2 separate regions of the Homo sapiens genome follow, and region 1 is linked to region 2. The links are contacts of gene promoters, found by promoter capture Hi-C in blood cells and fetal thymus (Javierre and others, 2016). All regions are on one chromosome and are shown on one strand. The core of a region is centred on a gene start or on the middle of the fragment in contact, and the rest is flanking DNA. Distances in the headings are between cores, read along the strand shown. Region 1 has its middle 18 kb from the start of PDE8A. Region 2 holds the start of SEC11A (SEC11 homolog A, signal peptidase complex subunit).

The links. Contacts are between HindIII fragments. The CHiCAGO score rates a contact against its expected background, and 5 or more counts as called.
Region 1: a fragment that was not itself captured here is called in contact with the fragment with the promoter of SEC11A in region 2 in 1 of 17 cell types (fetal thymus); the score reaches 5.6 in fetal thymus.

Annotation. Positions count from the first base shown.
Region 1 is chr15:84,961,464-84,965,311 of GRCh38, forward strand. It overlaps a transcript of SLC28A1 not described here. Among named protein-coding and RNA genes, the nearest start is that of PDE8A, 18 kb to the right of the region's middle. The HindIII fragment of the contact is 8,662 bases long and covers 1-3,848 here.
Region 2 is chr15:84,714,662-84,718,504 of GRCh38, forward strand. SEC11A (SEC11 homolog A, signal peptidase complex subunit) reads right to left here and starts at 1,478. Exons shown (of 6, transcript NM_014300.4): 1 at 1,364-1,478. The coding sequence starts at 1,414. RefSeq lists enhancers at 1,131-1,696, 1,152-1,221, 1,697-2,262, 1,892-2,011, 2,032-2,141 and 1 more. The HindIII fragment of the contact is 22,021 bases long and covers 1-3,843 here.

The DNA.
Region 1 (3,848 bases), core at 1,205-3,704, 250 kb after region 2:
TGGGACTACATGTATGTGCCGTCACACCTGGCTAATATTTTATTTTATTTTATTTTTTGTAGAGACGAGGTCTTGCTATGTTGACCAGGCTGGTCTTGAACTCCTGGCCTTAAATGATCCTACTGCCTTGGCTTCCCAAAGTGCTGGGATTACAGGTATGAGCCACTTTGCCTGGCTGAGAGATAAATCTTGATGGTCGTAAGACACTAAGATTCCGAGACTGTTACGGCAGCATCATTTAATGACAGTTAATTAATACAGCAGCAGTTTAAGGTGGTCCAAGTACTCCAAGATGTTGGGTGAGAGAAGCTCATGCCAGGTAAAGTCACTAACTAGGTGAGACAGCCAGGAAGAGTTTGGGATTCACAACGGCAGCACCTACGACAGAGATACTGCCCTTCATCAAACCACTGGGGCAAGATGATTCATTGAAATGTTACCCTGTGCTCATTTGGTTTACATTTGCTCCTCCCCTGGCTCTTTCAAGCAGAGAGTGAGTCCCTTGGTGTTTCCTTGCCTTGGGTATTTCTGGTGGTCAGAGCATAAAAGCTATCGGAAGTTGGTGGGTCTTTCTGTCTTTTGCAATAATCTTGACCTAAATTTTTTTTTAAATTTCTTAATTATTTTTAGAGACAGGGTCTCACTCTGCCACCCAGGCTGGAGTGCAATGGTGTGATCATAGCTCACTGAAGCCTCCAACTCCTGAGCTCAGGTGATCCTCCCGCCTAAGCCTCCAGAGTAGCTGAGACTACAAGTGCTCACCACCATGCCCGGCTAATTTTTCTTTTTTGTAGAGACAGAGATCTCGCTATGTTGCCCAGGCTTGTCTCGAACTCCTGGCCTCAGGTGATCTTCCCTTCTCAGCCTCTCAAAGTATTAGGATTATAGGTGTGAGCCACTGCACCCAGCCTTCGTTGACTCTTTATAGAGACTCTGTAAGGTGTCCTGGAAAGAGAAGAAAGAAAGGGTGGGCCTATGATTTTTTGTTTTTTGAGATAGAGTCTTGCTCCGTCGCCCAGGCTGGAGTATGGTGACATGATCAGGGCTCACTGCAACCTCCATCTCCTGGGCTCGGGTGATCCTTCCACCTCAGCCTCTGGAGTAGCTGGAACTATAGGTGCATGCCACCATGCCTGGCCAATGTTTTGTATTTTTAGTAGAGATGGGGTTTCACCATGTTGCCCAGGCTGGTCTCAAACTCCTAGTGCTGGGATTACAGATGTGAGTCACTGCACCAGGCCAAGGGTGGGCCTTTGAGAGCAGGAAGAAGGGAGAGGAAAAGATTTTTACCCCAGAAGGGAAAGGGGCAGAGTGTGACTAGGGCTGGGGGTAGGGAGGAAAGGTCTCAAACCTTGACTCTAGGCAGTGTCCAAAGGTGACAAGGCCTTAGAGGACATGGCTGCCTGGTACACTCAGGGAGAGTGGATCTGAGCACAGAGCTTTCGCCCCTCCCTCACAATTCCCACATTCCAAGGGTGACTCCAAATCAGCAGAGCCACCAAGCCTGAGGTGCCACAAGGCTGGGATGATGGATGTTCTGCATTTGCTAGTGTGACCAGTGGAGCCAGCCTGACGCCTCAGCACTGCCTAAGACCCTGGGACCTTGGCAAAATCTTGAGAATGGGGGAGGGAGACTCAACGATATGCCTGAGATTGAATTTCTTGCCAGCTCAGTGGGATAGTGGCTTAGAGTCAGATTTAAATTGAATTAGAAAAAATCAAGAAACAGGCCAAACCACTCCAGCCTTGCAATCCCTCGGGCTATCCCTAGCCACACCCCTTACTCTCATGCTCACCAACAAGCAGTGCCTACCACCACTGGATGCCCCATGTGACCCATAGCTGAGGATCTTTATACACCCTCTCCCCAGGAGTGGGCATCCACTTGTGTTTCCCTGGACAGGGAGCTTCCAATCTTCCATCCTGAGGTCCTGCTAGAATGGGCTGTTAGAATATTCCCTCACTAGATAGAGGGGTGGGGAAGCAGGAGTCCAGTTTCAGAAGCAGGGAAGGGACTACAGTCATAGCGAGTGGTGGACACGTGGCGGAGGGTGGGACACCCTTTCACAAAGTGGCCCATCACACCACAACACAGTATGGGACAGGGCTGGCTTCTCTTCAGCTCTGGCATGGCCAGGGAGGGTACCTACCTGGGGTCCAGCTGCCCCCCCGAGCCTGTCTATCAGCCATTGTACACCAGGCCAGTCCATGATGGGGTTCACCCAGGATGAGACCTGGACAGCAGCTGAGCCATGCAGAGCAAGTGGGTGGTTAAGAGGCAGATGGTCCAGTTGGTGCTTTCAGGCAAAGTGCCAGCTCCTCATCATGGCTCATGAGGATGCTTAGATCCAGCCCCTGATGACCCCCTATTTCACCTCTAGCCATTTCCTAGCACAGCGCCTCCTCTGTCCTAGCTCCAGCCTCACTGAGCTGCTTTCAGTCCCTTGAAGGAGTTGCACTCTCCTTCCTCTCGGCTCTTCCACAGGCTGCTCCAGACGCTTGACCACTCCTTTCTTTCATGTACCTAATTCCTACTCATCCCTCAGGACCCAATGTGGCTGTCTTCTCTAGGAAGCCATCTGAACTTATAAGTTGAGTTAGGAGTCTGTTCTGGACCTCCCACAGCACCCTGATTCTCCTGTCTTGGCCCCTGTCATACCTTGTGAAGTCTTGTTTAATCATCTATCTCATACATGTCAGTATGCTTCTGGGGGAAGGAAATGTGTCCATCTTGTTTAAAACAGTATCTTTAGGGCTTGATGTCTAGTGAGGGAGGAAGGGAAGGGGAAGGAAACGATAAGGGCATGGGAAGGAAGGATGGAAGGAAGGAGGGAAGGAAGAAGAAAAGAAGAGAAACAGGGAAGGAGGCAAGGAAGACATTGAAGGAAGATTGCCCACTCCTTTCAGGGCACTCATTGCCCCAACAGATCTTCCCAGCAGGAGCAGCTGCACAGAGATCACCTATTCCTTCCTCTCACTCAGTAGGAGACATGCTCTTTATTGGTTAGAATGATTGACATTACCCAATATCAATTGCAAGTAACAGTGCATTCAATAGAAAATGGTTTACATGATGTGAGATTTTTAATATCTCACATAGTAGCAACTCCAGGGGTAAGTGGCTCCAGGGTTAATCCAGGCATCAATGATGGTACCAGGGACCCTGGCTCTTGCCACCTCTCTGCTCTGTTATTTTGATTTTATCCTTGGATTGACCCCTTGTGGTCACAAGATGGCTGCTGAAGTTCTGGACATTACACCCAGACAGGGCCATGACTAGTAGAAAAGGCTTTTCCTCCCATGCATTCATTAGATGGGAAGAATCTTTCCACAGAAGCCCCAGCAGATATTTCTTTCTATCCTGGGATTAAGCCAGAGGCCCATGCTGTAGCTGCAAGGGAGGCTGGAAAAGCAAGTGCGTCTGCAGCTGGAAGCAGACTGCCAACATAGGAGCAGGAGGGAATGATTGATGCTTCCCTCTTTGTCTTACCTGTAAGGCTTGAGACTTCCTTGCCTTTGAAGATCCTCAGTATGGAATGCCAGTGCTTGGACCTTGATATGGTTTGGCTGTGTCCCCACACCCAAATCTCATCTTGAATTATAGTTCCCATAACCCCACGTGTCATGGGAGGGACCTGGTGGAAGGTAATTGAGTATTGGGGGTGGTTACCCCCATGCTGTTCTCATGATAGTGAGTTGAGTGAGTTCTCACAAAATCTGATGGTTTTATAAAGGGCCTTTCCCCCTTTGCTTGGCACTTCTCCTTCCTCCCACCATGTACAGAAAAATGTGTTTGCTTCCCCTTCTGCCATGATTGTAAGTTTCCTGAGGCCTCCCCAGCCCTGCAG
Region 2 (3,843 bases), core at 228-2,727:
ACTTCTATACTGTATTGCTTCTCACAAAGTCTCATTTTCTTCATGTTTAATAAGAACAACGTTACCTACCTTACAGGTGTATAAAGTGCTTCACACATGGCAAGAGCTCAAAAAAGTTATTGTTTTGCCTTAGTCCTTTTCTACACATTTAGGCTCCTTGAAGGCCGAGTCTTTCTTAACTATCTTTGCATTTCTCTCATTGTACCTAGCATAGAGTACAATAAATATCAGACTCAAAATAAATACTTTCCTCAGAGAAATATCTGTGGCATCTAGAAATCCAAATATGGATTAAAAAAAGACAACACTATACAAGTAAAAATTTGAAGTGTTGTCATAAAGACATAAAGTAACGTTTGCGCAATTTTTATAGAATGCTCAATTCTGACTGACAGAATTGACACTGAGCTAGCTAAGGCCTGAAGGGGAGTAAGGAAAGGTTGTGTATCTACTTCCCTAAGTGGCAGTTATAAGTACAAAAAATGCAAGTCCAAGGAAAAAAAATCCTTAATGGTGACATCAGGATAATCATAACAGTAAAATACTGTTTAAAACAAAAAAAAAGTCCGATGCAGCAAAACTAGGCTCTACAGACACACTAGGCGCAAAAGATAAAACAGAACAACCTTTTCTAAGGACTAAATAATTACAACAATATTCTCAGTACTATTTGGCATACGATCTAGAAGATCAAAGTAAAGTGTAAGGACAAAATCAGGAGACCTACATTTCCAGATCCCCGTGGCACTGATATTGGACTGTAAAACCATAGATTCCGAGGGCTGCCGCCTTAGTGCTAAGCGGACGCAAGGGCAAGTAGTGTAACTGTTCCAACTCGGAGCCCAGAGTGGTCCAAGTCAAAGTCGGTGCAGCCCGCTACGGTTCAGCTCTACTAAAGGGTTGCAAGGAGCTGAAAGCAGCAAAACGGTTTTTGTGGGGCCTCCAATCGCCTTCCTGAGCGCCCCAGAAACCGGCTAAACCTCGTCTCTCCCGAAACCACCTGGAGTCGCTCCGACTGGAGAAATCAAGAGTCCGCCGCCTTAAAATGACTAAAACAATAAGCAACCCCAACTCCCACTTCAAGCGCGTACGGTTTCCATTTGCTCCCCTGCCTCAGTGGGAGGAATGGAACGTGAAGACACCGCTTCCCGCCCCGCCCCCGGTAGGCCCTGAATCAGTTCGGGGTTAAAAATAATGAGGCGGACAAGGCGGCCTCTGGCCACAGTCTCCAAAGAAAGCGAATGACCCGGGTATCAGACCAGCTCAGACCCTCACACCAGAACCCTGGGGTCCGCCGGGCCCCGCAGCAGCAGCCTCGAAGGGACAAGAAGAGCCAGGAGAAAAAGAGGACGGACAAGCTCACCTGCCGCTTGTTCATCCGCCGCACATCGTCCAAAAAGTCTAGAGACAGCATGGCGGGGACGGCGAGCAGGACACCGGCAGGGGAAAGGGCGCGATGACCAGCGGGCGGAACTACTGGAGCTCGGGTCGGGCTCACACTGGACAGGACCCCGCAGTGCTTGCACTTCCGCTTCCGGGGCGGGAGCTGGCACGGTCGGGCACGGTCCCCGCCCCCCGCGCCCCTTCGCTGCGGAGAGCTGACAGAGAGACTCACGACCTTGCTAGTCCAGTCTCAGGGCTTGGCCTCGCCGTGGGAGGGTTCTCACGCTCTGGCTCTCGCCTGCCAAAAACCGACTGGACGCCACTTCCCGCGCTCGGCCCCGCGGCCCTTCACCGAGGCGGCGACCCAGGCTTAGTTGGGGAGGCTGCTCTGCCACCTTCGGAAGGCGGGCCTCTGTGCCCGCCCGGCCAATCGCGAGCAACCTCTCCGGTGTGGGCGGGTAGAAGCGGTTCCGCGTCCCGGCTTGGGTATGGGTGTGGCAGTGGATGTGTCGTCTGACCGTAGGTTCTCTGGTCGAGCAAGTCTCCTGCGCTATGGGAAGCTGAGGAGGTGCTTTCTTTCTTTCTGTCTCTGTCTCTCTTTCTTTACGTCTCTGTCTCTGTTGAGGTGCTTGCTTGCTTGCTTGCTTACTTTCTGTCTGTCTGTCTCTTTCTCTTTTTCTTTCTCTTTCTCTCTTTCCTTTCTTTCTCACTGTGTCGCCCAGGCTGGAGTGCAGTGGCGCAATCTCAGCTCACTGCAACCTCCGCCTCGCGGGTTCAGGCGATTCTCCTGCCTCAGGCTCCCAAGTAGCTGGGACTACAGGCGCGCGCCACCAAACCTGGCTAATTTTTGTATTTTTAGTAGAGACAGGGTTTCACTATGTTGGCCAGGCTGGTCTCGAACTCTTGAGCTCAGGTGATCCGCCCGCCTTGGCGTCCCAAAGTGCTGGGATTACAGTCGTGAGCCACCGCGCCCGGCCATCGAGGTGCTTTCAATAAGTGCTTTTCGCGTAAGGTTGGACCGTGTGAGAGACCTTCCGAGCACTGCCTGAGCCTGCCAGGAGTTTACAGTCCAATTGGAGAGAAAACAGCCCGGGAGAATTAGAAAACATCCAAATGGTGCAACAGCGTGATGAGACCACCAGTGGTGTGGGTCGTTAGGAAGTGGCTTCCTTTCTGACCTTGACTTTGCTGACAGGATTTGACATGGTCTCCTTGAATTCTACCTCCTGGTTTTCTTAACTTGGACACCTTGAAGTGACTATCTTTTCGCTACCTTTTGCTTTGACTGGCCAAAGCTCCTAATACGCACTTCAGTCAACAAAGACTAAAGCTGGATTACTTGGTATCATTTCTCTCTCTTTTTTTTTTTTTTTTTTTTTTTTCAAAATAATCCTTCTCTCCCATTAGGGAAAGATGAATGAAGGATATACTGGAACTCTTTGTAGTATCCTCGAAATTCTTTAAATGGAAAGTCATTCCAAAATAAAAACTTGAATTTATTGGAGGATGGCTGTAATAAAAAAGACAAATAATAATAAGTTTAGGGGAAGATGTGAAGAAATTGGAACCCTCATATACTGCTGGTGGGAATGTAAAATGGTGCAGCCACTTTGGGAAATAGCTGCAGTTGCTCAAAAGGTTAAAGATGTGCCGTCTGCAGTGGCTCATGCCTGTAATCCCAGCACTTTGGGAGGCTGAGGCAGGCAGATCACCTGAGGTCAGGAGTTCCAGACTAGCCTGGCCAACATGGTGAAAACCCGTCTTTACTAAAGATACAAAAATTAGGCGGGTGTGGTGGTGGGCACCTGTAATCTCAGCTACTGGGGAGGCTGAGGCAGGAGAATCGCTTGAACCCAGGAGGCAGAGTTTGCGGTGAGCCGAGATCGTGCCACTGCACTCCAACCTGGGCGACAAAGTGAGACCCTATCTCAAAACACACAAACAAAAAAAGGTTAAAGATGGAATCACCATATTAACCAGCAATTCCACTGCTAGGTATATACCCAAGAAAATTGAAAACGTTTGTCCACACAAAAACTTGTACATGAATGTTCACAGCAGCATTATTCATAATAGCTAAAAAGTGGAAATAACTGAAATGTTTATCAACTAATGAAGGGATAAATAAATGTGGTATATTGGAATAATGTACTAATAATTCCGCTGGTACAATGGAATATTAATCTGGCAACAAAAGGAAATACTACAACATGAATGACCCTTGAAACAGATTTAGTGAAAGGATCCAGTCACAAAAGACAAAGCATTGCATGATTCCATTTAGGTGAAATATCTAGAATAGACAAATCCACAGAGATGGAAATCAGTGGTTGCCTAGGGCTGGGAGAGTTGGGGAAAATGGGGAGTGGCTGCTAATGGGTATGGAGTTTCTTTTAGGGGATGCTAGTTCTACAACTATGTGAATATACTCAAAACCATTAAATTGTACACTTTACACTG